2 separate regions of the Homo sapiens genome follow, and region 2 is linked to region 1. Evidence: promoter capture Hi-C in 16 types of primary human blood cells and fetal thymus (Javierre and others, 2016). All regions are on one chromosome and are shown on one strand. Each heading gives the region's core, a stretch centred on a gene start or on the middle of the fragment in contact. The rest is flanking DNA. Distances are from core to core; before and after follow the strand shown.

What was found. The method cuts DNA at HindIII sites, captures the fragments that hold promoters and counts their contacts. A CHiCAGO score of 5 or more calls a contact.
Region 2: a contact is called between a fragment that was not itself captured here and the fragment with the promoter of RAB40A in region 1, in 1 of 17 cell types (activated CD4 T cells). The highest score is 5.0, in activated CD4 T cells.

Annotation. Positions count from the first base shown.
Region 1 is chrX:103,518,153-103,523,900 of GRCh38, forward strand. It overlaps RAB40A (RAB40A, member RAS oncogene family), which reads right to left and starts at 1,337. Exons shown (of 3, transcript NM_080879.3): 1 at 1,218-1,337. The HindIII fragment of the contact is 4,467 bases long and covers 412-4,878 here.
Region 2 is chrX:103,791,761-103,797,518 of GRCh38, forward strand. PLP1 (proteolipid protein 1) reads left to right here. Exons shown (of 7, transcript NM_000533.5): 7 at 1-859. It also overlaps a transcript of RAB9B not described here. Among named protein-coding and RNA genes, the nearest start is that of PLP1, 18 kb to the left of the region's middle. The HindIII fragment of the contact is 3,314 bases long and covers 536-3,849 here.

The DNA of each region.
Region 1 (5,748 bases), core at 87-2,586:
CCAGTGTAGAATATGTCACCTTATATATATGGAATAGGAGAAAACTAATAGAAACATTCTATTTGCTTATATTTTTAAAATTGGAAAGTTTTAATGAAAATTGATTTAAAAAATCATTACCTATAAAGAGAAGGAAAAACAGCCCAGGACAGAAGCCAATAATGTCTTTTCCCTTAAAAATATAATATATATACACTGGCTCCATGCACTAGAAAGGTGAAGAAACATGATAGACCCAGTAGCAATGAGCAACTCTAGTGCCCATATTGAATCCACTTAAAACACATCACACTGAAAGGAACTAGGTTATCTTAGAGAAATGACTGAGTTTAGGTCTGTGTAGCCATTCTACTAGATGAATCTGGACCAAACTATCATGCCAGAGAGTGCGTCAAAAAGACTCAGAAGCCAAGCTTAAGGGGCTCTCGCTGGACAAAGATGAAGCAATTTGAACATTAAATAAAATAATGACTACTATGGATTAAAACACATTATAATATAAAAACTTCTACAGCTCATGATGACACTCTAAAAGAAAAATAAAATAAAACAAACAATATCAACTCATTGCTTGCCTTTGGAGAACCCTAGGGAAACAACTCATTGTTTTGAAAAGTGGAAATATTGCAAAAGAATTAGGCACTCATCCAACCCTTTCTATACATACTATCCCTCAGTGTAACCTAATGGTTTATGAAAGTTTATTTAATAGAATAATTCCAGCTAATAAAGCAGAGAAAATTATAGAATTAGAATATCATCCTTTTATGACCTTTAATGAATATAGAACTAAGCAACAATCCTTAGACGCTGCAGAAAAATCGAGGTGAAAAAGGGATGGGAAATTTTATAATGGATGGATCAGCTTAACAATACTTGAACATAGTAATTAATCTTAACATCACAAGAGGAGAGACAATTAGACACAATGAGCCCCCTGTGTAACACTATAGGAATAAACAATACCACATATGAAGTACTTCTGACCAAAACAAATCTAAATTGAATCAAGCCTCTGAATCTAACACCATTTTGTTAAATTTTTTTATTATACTTTTAAGTTCTGGGATACATGTGGAGAATGTACAGGTTTGTTACATAGGTATACACGTGCCATGGTGGTTTGCTGCACCCATCAACCCGTCATCTACATTAGTTATTTCTCCTAATGGTAATATAAAAAGAGAAAGAAATACTTGGAATTTGATTTGGAAAACCTTTCTCCTGTAGCCAGTCCACCTCCATGTGCTTGATACAGTTGACACTTCTTACCCTACAGGAGATTATTCAGCCTATCAGCCAATCTAGAAAATAAAATCATGAGGATCCATGTTTGGTGGTATAGGAACTATTAAGTTTATATTGGAACATTTTGCAAAACATGTTAAAATTAAGTTAAAATGAATGTGGCTCGAAATTAGGATTGTAAGATTTCGGATTTCAACTCAGTTTCCACAGAGAAGTTTGGTTGACCTAAATTTTAAATATGTTAGGAATAAGCCCCTGCTGCACATCATTATATTCAAAGTTCTCTGTAGCTTCATTTGTGAAAACAAATGGATGAATGGGTATATATTTGTAAAACATGTCTTTGGGATAAAAAGGCATTTTGAGTTCTTGGTTTTCAGGATGTTCCTTCTGGTATTCTTCAAATAAATGCTTCTATAGTATTATAAAGATAATTTCATTAACCTGCTAAAATGGGAATGTATTTGTCTATAGCTACAAGGTAAAAAGTGTTATGAATAATAATTTTAAGATGACAGATATTAAATAGTTCAAATATTATTGATAATAAGATTTTTTTAAAAAAGAAAATATATGTTCATCCAAAAGAATGAACATGAACATTCATAACACCATTATTCATGAGATGTCAAAAACTGGAAAATACACAAATCTCCATCACAGATAAATATAGTGTGAAATATCCAAATAATATAATACTTTACACCAATGAGAATAAGCAATCTACAATATAGACCACAATAAATATTAATTTCACATACATTATGTTGACTGAAAGAAGCAAGACACAAAAGAGCACATGCTGTATGATTCCAAGAATTTCTCTTCTAACCTCCCAATAGAGATTGGGGCAGGAGAGGAATATCAACAACTCATTTCCTTTTATTTCAAGGTACTTAGTGTCTTTTTATGTTATCTGTAGCTTAACCTCAGATAAGTGAAGCAACTTTCTTCTGAGCCCTTGAAAAGTGATTAATTACACATAAGATGAAAAGCTAATACTATATCTGATGGACAGGCAATGTGGTGTGAGAGATTCGGGCAAGAATCCTAAATGGATGCTCAGTCTGCACCAAATCACACCGCAGTCACTGAGTCACCATGGTAACCATTCTGGCCAAGGAAAGCTGAGAAAAAACAAACACCACTATCCCGAGCTTGTTCCTAATATGTACTAGGAACTAAATAGGATTGACATGATGCACAGTAATTAACCTCAAGTAGTCCTTACAATAAAAATTCCTGACAGCTTCAGTGACATACAAATGTATACATACTCACATACATATATGCTTGCTCACCCTCTCACCACTCCAAATTCCAAGAATTTATTGAGGTTGATTTACTGGTGGGTAAAGAAGTAAATCTCGCCAGGCATGGTGGCTCGTGGCTATAATCCCAGCTACTCAGATGGCTGAGGTAGGAGGATTGCTTGAGGTTAGGAGTGTGAGAGAAGTCTAAACAACATAGCAAAACTCTGTCTCTGAAAAATGTTTTTAAGTTTAGCTGAGCATGGGGGCACACACCTGTAGTCAGTTATTCAGGAGGCTGAGGTGAGAGGATTGCTTGAGCCTGGGAGTTCAAGGCTGCAGTGAGCTATGATTGCACCATTGCACTCCAGCCTGAGCCACACATTGCAACAAAATCATTTCTGACCACACATATAAAGTTGAAAGCTACTAAACTATGTTCTTTTGGTGTGATTTCTGAAGATGACCTGTAGAATTGTCTCTGGAACATTTTCCTCCATAGTTTCAATATATCGCCAATGACTTGTAAAAGCAGATACGGAAATACAGGTAAACACAGGTTAAGGATCAAATACCTTTTCCATCCTAGAGTAAGCTGTGCTTTCAACCAAAAAAATGCCTCACTGATGTTAAACACTTGGTTGCTGATAGTACTGTGAAAATATAGTAATTAGCAATTGTGTTTAACAAACAAAGCCATGTATAGCATCATCAAGAGTATGAAATATTTATGAACAATCTGTCCACAGATGTGCAGTGCCTGTACACTGAACACCACACATCATTGCTGAGAGAATTAAAGACCTAAATAAGTGGAGGACTTACCATGCTCATGGGTCACAAACAATACTGAGAAGATTCAGTATTGTTAAGATGTCAATTCTTCCAAAACTGATCTATAGATTCAGAGCAATTCAAATGGAAATCCTATTAAAAAATTTTTAAAGAAACCGACAGGCTGATTCTAACATTCATATGGACATGTAAAAGACCTAGACTCTATTAGTCTGTTCCCATATTGCTAAAAACAAACACATGAAACTGGGTGATTTATTTTAAAAAAGGGGTTTTCATGGCTTACGGTTCTGCAGGCTATATAGGAACCATAGAGGCATCTGCTTCTGGAGAGGCCTCAGGGAGCTTTAACTCATGGCGAAAGGTAAAGCGGAAGCAGGCGTTTTACATGGCAGGGAAGGTGCTACACACTTGTAAACAACCAGATCTTATGAGAATTCTATTATGAGAACAGAACCAAAGGGAGAAATCCACTCTCACGATCCAATCACCTCCCACCAGTCCTCATATCCAACATTGGGGATTACAATTTGACATGAGATTTGGGTAGGGACACAGTTCCAAACCATATCAACTATGAAGTACAACTTTGATAAAGAACAAAATTAGAAGACAAACACTACCTGATTTCAAGACTCCTTACAAACATACAGTAATCCAGACAGTGTGCTATTGGCATCAAGATGGATTAGTAGATCAAAGGAACAGAATAAAGAGTCCAGCTATAGACCCACAAGTATATGGACAACTGAGTTTGACAAAGATGCAATGGTGATTCAGTGGAGAAAGGATTATTGTTTCAACAAATGGTGCTGGGACAAGTGAATATTGACATGCACAAATATAAACTGTGACTCAGATATCACACTATATACAAAAGTCTATTCAAAATGGACCTGAGATCTAAATATAAAATTTGATGCTATAAAACTTCTAGCAGAAAAAAAAAAAACAGGAGAAAATCTTTTTGACAATGGGTCAGGTGAAGATTTCATAGATGAGACAACAAAACCACAATCTATAAGCAAAGAAATTGAAAAATTGGACTTCCTCAAAGTTAAAAACTTTAGCTTTCCAACTACATGGTTGAAAAAATAGACAAGTAAGCTGCTGACCGGGGTAAAATGTTTGAAAATTATATATTTAATAAAGGACTTGTATCCAGAATATGTTTAAAATCTTAGTAAGAAGAAAACACACACCAGTAAAGAAACAGGCAAAATATTTGAATAGACATTCCACTAAAGAAGACATACAAATATCATGTAAGCACAGGAAATGATGCTCAGCATCACTCGTTATAAGGGAAATGTAAATGAAAATTTCAATGAGATCCTACTAAACTCCTGTGAGAATTAAAAAAATTAAAAAGACAGATTATACCAAGCTCTGTCGAGGTTGTGGAGGATGAAACAGTGATACATTACTGGTGGTAATGAAAAATGGTACAAACACTTGGAAACAGGCAGTTTCTTACAATGTTAATCTTACATCTACCACATGATCCAGCCATTGCACTCCTAAGTATTTATTAGAGAAAGAAAGCCTATTTCCATGGAAAGACTTATTCACAAATATTCATAGAAGCTTTGTTTACAAGAGATCCTAATTGGAAATAATTAAAATATCCAACAACAGGTGAATGGATAAAAAATTTATGATATAGCCATATACTGGAATACTATTCAGCAATAAAAAAGAATGAACTATTGATATGTGCAACAAAATGGATACATCTAAAAATAAATTGGGTGAATGAAAGAAGCCAAACCAAAAATCAAAAACAAACGCAGAAAAACATTTCTACAATTCCATTTAAATAAATGTCTAGGACATAAAACTTAATCTATAGTGACAAAGTATTGTGTTTGTCTGGGGACAGGGCAATAGGAGGGATAGAGAGTCCTAGTAGTACAGAACTGAAAATCTTATGTTCTGGGAAACAATGATAATAATATTTAGGCCTAGCTGGTTATTTTAGGGGACATGACTGGGTATCATTATAATAGAGCAAATTATATGGAAATTATTATTTTTCAAAATATTGAACTTTTGTATCTGACATTTTGACAGTTTTAACTAATACTTTGTACATTTTTGCCTTCTTAAAAAATGTATTACAGAATGGATAATAACATGGTTACCATTGAAAAATGCATATTACAATCTCCAGTTGCTTGGAAGACCTTCTGACCAACTGTGTATTTCAATGCCCATCTGAGAGATACATGGGAATCACTGATCATTATTTATACAGGCAGAAAACATATGTAAATTTATTTCAAATACATGTTAAACATCAAGTTGATTCCCCAAATGAATTATTCATTGCTTTGTAACAACGAAAGGCATTTTAAACATGGGCCTCAAGGGCGGCTTCAAAGCACATAGCTGCTGATGAAAGGAAATTCCACATGCTAAACCTCTTCTCCAAAGATGGGATCAAAGGAGTTTC
Region 2 (5,758 bases), core at 943-3,442, 270 kb after region 1:
AATTGGACATTAAGCATCACAAATGATATTAAAAATTGGCTAGTTGAATCTATTGGGATTTTCTACAAGTATTCTGCCTTTGCAGAAACAGATTTGGTGAATTTGAATCTCAATTTGAGTAATCTGATCGTTCTTTCTAGCTAATGGAAAATGATTTTACTTAGCAATGTTATCTTGGTGTGTTAAGAGTTAGGTTTAACATAAAGGTTATTTTCTCCTGATATAGATCACATAACAGAATGCACCAGTCATCAGCTATTCAGTTGGTAAGCTTCCAGGAAAAAGGACAGGCAGAAAGAGTTTGAGACCTGAATAGCTCCCAGATTTCAGTCTTTTCCTGTTTTTGTTAACTTTGGGTTAAAAAAAAAAAAAGTCTGATTGGTTTTAATTGAAGGAAAGATTTGTACTACAGTTCTTTTGTTGTAAAGAGTTGTGTTGTTCTTTTCCCCCAAAGTGGTTTCAGCAATATTTAAGGAGATGTAAGAGCTTTACAAAAAGACACTTGATACTTGTTTTCAAACCAGTATACAAGATAAGCTTCCAGGCTGCATAGAAGGAGGAGAGGGAAAATGTTTTGTAAGAAACCAATCAAGATAAAGGACAGTGAAGTAATCCGTACCTTGTGTTTTGTTTTGATTTAATAACATAACAAATAACCAACCCTTCCCTGAAAACCTCACATGCATACATACACATATATACACACACAAAGAGAGTTAATCAACTGAAAGTGTTTCCTTCATTTCTGATATAGAATTGCAATTTTAACACACATAAAGGATAAACTTTTAGAAACTTATCTTACAAAGTGTATTTTATAAAATTAAAGAAAATAAAATTAAGAATGTTCTCAATCAAACATCGTGTCCTTTGAGTGAATTGTTCTATTTGACTTCACAATAGAAACTTAATAATCGTACCTTGTTCAAGGAGATCATTCATTTTTCAGCTCATCCAAGTCATTCTCATAACATTTCTCTGAAATAAATAGTATATGAATAGATTACTTCTACTTTTATAGTTGAAGACACTAAGAAATAGAAGCAAAGTAATTTGCCCAAAGAAATCCAGTAAGTACATGTCTGAGCTTGTGTTAAAACGCAGATATTGAAACCAATTTATTGCCTACTTAAAGGTTTCTTTTCTCTTCGAAGTTGGGTTTCAGAATGTTCAGAGTCAACTATGGTTACTTTTTCAATACCTTAGTGGTGCCCCAGTCCCCGGTGCATTTAGATTTAAGTTATTGTTACCTTCTCTTTAAATTGTTTGGATATTCCAGTAATGATCCCTTAGTAATTCATACGTGACTAATATTTAGTTTTATTTGGATAGTACTGGATGGAAGGTTTAGTACTTAAAGGACAGAGCAGGTATGGAAAGGGCAACGTAAATGTAAACAGGCTGTGGCAGGGCAGTACTAAAATAAATTAGTGACACCTACCACCCTGGATGGCCAGCCTACTAGCCCACCGGGGACATAGCATTAAAGCCCTTTCACAACCCTAGGTTAGAATTTGGCACCCTTGGACAGCACTCTGATGACCAGCTTAAAGAAAGCTGTCTTAAAATCATTTCATTGCCCCATAGTTGCAGCTGGCAAATGACTGGAGAGAAAGGAATCTTTAGCTGGAGGGATGACAAGTCAGTCATCAGTTAAGGAGCTCCATTCAAAAGCAGTTTCAATTTAATTTCCTGATTTCTGCTTAACCACAATTAATATTCTGCAAGCGAGTCTGGTTGAACGACTTTAAGACATAAAGAATAAAAATATGACAGGGACTTATTTTAAGACACTGCAAACAAGGACACAGCACCATATTTTGGAGAATTGATTCAGGGTTCTACAGAGTGATTGTATTTTTGCCTCAGAGGAACCGAAAGCCAGTTCCCAAGAAAGCTATGTTTTCCATCTGCCCTTATTTGGCTCTGCCTCTGGGATGAATCTATAGATGGAGTTTCTAGGCTCTCAGAAGCTGAGAGCATCTCCAGTCTATCAATTGAACCCATTGTTCTTAGCTCTCCCACACACCATAAACCTCCTTTTTTCTAACTGAAAGAGCTCTCTTTGTGCTGAGATCAGCCGAAGATCAAGATGCAGCAGTATAAACAAGAAACATTTTCTTACAGCACCAGTTGTATTGCTTTTCCTATCTTCAGGGTCAGTACTGAGTGCAGTTATGCAGGACGTGGAAGCTGCAGCTTTGTCCAGAGCAACATTTGTTCATTCCTTAATTCGTTCTGTGAACATTCATTGAGAAACTACTAAGTATTGTGTTAAACCCCAGGAAGTTCAAGTTTGGGGGCAGTGTGGGTAGAAAGGTGATCAAGACCAGATCTTACACTCAAGGATCTCTCTCAGATTCAGCCATAGCAGACAGGTCTTCCACGGTAAACTGGAGTGGAGGCAAGGAGTGTGCAAAAGGCAGTCTGATCGGCTGACTCCAGTGGGCATCTGAATTCTCCCCTCAGTATGTGGGAGGGGTGGGTGTTAAGGGCCTTGACTTCACGTGGCTCTGGGTTTTTAGGGCATGGATACAAACAAAACTTCAATTTAGAGTCCTGACAACTTGTGACTTGCTCTTTCTGTGTCACCCTGCTTCTTGCCTTACATGTGACAGCATTTATGCACACACTGGCTCAATGCATGTGCGTGCTTCCACCCACTCAATCATTTGGGGAGTCAGAGGGCACATGAATCAAGATTGATATAAACACAAGCTATTCAGTCTGGCCTTTTGTCTCTATCCAGGCTAAGTCTGAGAAGCCAAGGAAGGGTAATGTAAGATATAACATATCAAAACTGCACTTGTATCCCCTAAATTTATACAACAACAACAAAAAAGATACCAAGTCCTTCTCTGTTTGGATTTCCTTAACTGTGAACACAGGTAGTGTGGCTATTTTGACATTAACAGTTAACTTCATGAATATTAAGTAACAAATAAAAGAAATACTCATTATTATATTTACGAAATCAATACTTGGCCATTCCTACATCAATAAGCAGGTAAGGACTTCAAGTCAATATTTATATATTGGGAAAGATTTTCCTCGTTCACTCACTTGTTTGAAAGACGCAAACATACTCTTCATTATATTTGTTGTCCCACAAAGTTTGGTGTCTATGTGCTCCTGTTCTGAGACTCCTTGAATTGATTGACTTTATTCTAAAGGAAAATATCAGATAAGGTAATGAGTGTTTTACTGATTATGGATCAGTCCAAAGAAATCCAGTCTTAACATTTTACTCAAACTCTCAAAAAATATTTATTTGATAAATTATCTGTGCCAAGTATTATGCAAAGTGTTTGTGGTATAGCAGTTAATAAAAGAGATACAGTCTCAGCCCTCATGGAGCTCAACTAAAGACAGAAAGGGGTAGGCAGGGAGACAGGGAGCATGGTGAAGAATGAGGCTAACATCCTTCCACAGAAACAGTGGAAAAGATAGAATCAGGGAGAAACTTGCACAGTCCCATGAGAAACAAAGAGTCATGTTAAAAAAAAAAAAGATATAGACATGTAAGTCTGTATTTAGATAAATGCAATGGTATTTAAGATTGAAAAACATTAAATAGGCTTGGACTGTTTTGCCCCCCAATGTGGAAAGTCACCCAGCTCTAGGTTCCAAAGGAACTAGCTTCATGGATCTTCTATATATTATGTGAAACCCTATCTTTCAAGCATCAAAGGGGCAAAATACAAAGCTGATTCTGAGGGTTACAATATTAAAACCAAACAAGCCAACTGATATCTGAAAGTGTATAGATGGTTTTAATTCTAGTTGATGATGAATTCACATGTAGACCAACTTTAAAAAACAACAGGGAAATGTGGCTCTTGCAATCAAAGCTTCCTTCCATGTCCCCAACATGTACCAGATAGAAATTTGGTGAAATCTCATTTGACTTAAAATATTAAATCAGCCCACATTATCCAAAAAAAAGTGAAGAGAAACATAAAAATTATCCTATATGCAGATGATATTATCACAAGTGAACAGAAACACACAAATTATCCTATACGCAGATGATATTATCACAAGCTCAGAGTGGTCTTAGCAAACAAATGGCTCAGCTAATTACTGCTAGGAAGAAAGTATACATATCAGCTTTCCTAAAAAAAAAATTTGTCATTTTCAGTAGATGTTCCTACCTTCCTGTTGGTGAATAGTGTGAATAATTCCATAAAGCAGGTACCTCAGGATATATTCTGCAGCTGGCTTATCTGAAAGGACAAAAGTAAATTACATTTCTCAAAGCCAGGTAATATATGGGTGCTTATGGAATTTCTGCACATGTGTTGTTGTTTGTTTGTCTTTAATAGCTTAGCGGGTTACAACTACTTTAAAATATTTCCAGGTTAAAAAATTTTAAGTCATGCTTTATGCCCTATTTGTCTTGGTGTTAAAGAAGATTCAAAATAATTGTCTGGGCAGGGCATGGTGGCTCATGCCTGTAATCCCAGCACTTTGGGAGGCCAAAGAGGGCATATCACTTGAGCTTGAGGTCAGGAGTTCAAGACCAGTCTGGCCAACATTGCAAAACTAAAAATACAAAAATTAGCCAGGCGTGGTGGTTCAAGCCTATAATTCCAGCTACTCAGGAGGCTGAGGAACAAGAATGCTTGAGCCTGGGAGGCAGAGGTTGCAGTGTGCCGAGATTGTGCCACTGCACTCCAGTCTGGGCAACAGAGGGAGACCCTGTCTCAGAAATAATAATAATAATAATTGCCTGAAGATAAACTTGGCCCGGACTGTAAGCAGCCTTGCCTCCAACAATAATAGCTGCACTTTATCAAGCACTGTATCTGCAAAGTACTTTACACATCTCATTTTATCCTCACATCAGTCTTATGAGGCAGAAGCAACTATTATCCTTCAGTTCCATGCTGGAGCATGTGGCCTTGTTGGTCACATCAGTTTACACATGAGCATGTTAATCCTATCCTAGCTCAGCTGACTGGCAAAGCTGCAGAGATTAGCTGAATCCCGGTATTTGTCAGGGAGCAGAACCACTATCATTGTAGCTCAGTATAGTGAACAAAAGTTCTCTGAAAAGGGGCCACAAAGCGAGACACCGCCTCTACAAAAAAAAAAAAAAAAAAAAAAAAAAAAAAGTACTCCAGCATGGTACCTAGTGCCTGTAGTCCCAACTACTCTGGAGGCTGAGGTGGGAGTATAGCTGTAGCCCCAGAGGCTGCGGGTGCAGTGAGCTGTGATTGCACCATTACACTCCGTCCTGGGCAACAGAGCGAGACCCTGTCTTGAATAAAAAATAAAACAAACAAAATTATTAAAAATAAAAAGGAATTTAGAGGAAAGAGACCTTTTTTTTTTTTTTTTTTGAAACAGGGTCTCACTCTGTTGCCCAGGCTATAGTGCAGTGGCACCGTCTCGGTTCACTACAGCCTTGACCTCCTGGGCTCAAGTGATCCTCTCACCTCAGCCTCCAGAGTAGCTGGGACTACAGGCGACTGCACCATGCTCAGTGCTAATTTAAAAAAAATTTTTTGTAGAGACGTGGTTTTGCCATGTTGCCCAGGCTGTCTCGAATTCCTGGCCCACCTCAGCCTCCCAAAGAGCTGGGATTACAGGCATGAGCCACTGCTCCCAGCCCCAAGGAAAGAGACTTTATTCCAGAGAACAGTTTGGACACCAGAGACACACAGCCTTAGGTGTAAAATGAAGGTGTGCTCCAGAGAGCAAAGCTAGGGTTATACTTTTACAGCAAAAGTTTATGCAAATGAAGTATTCAAAC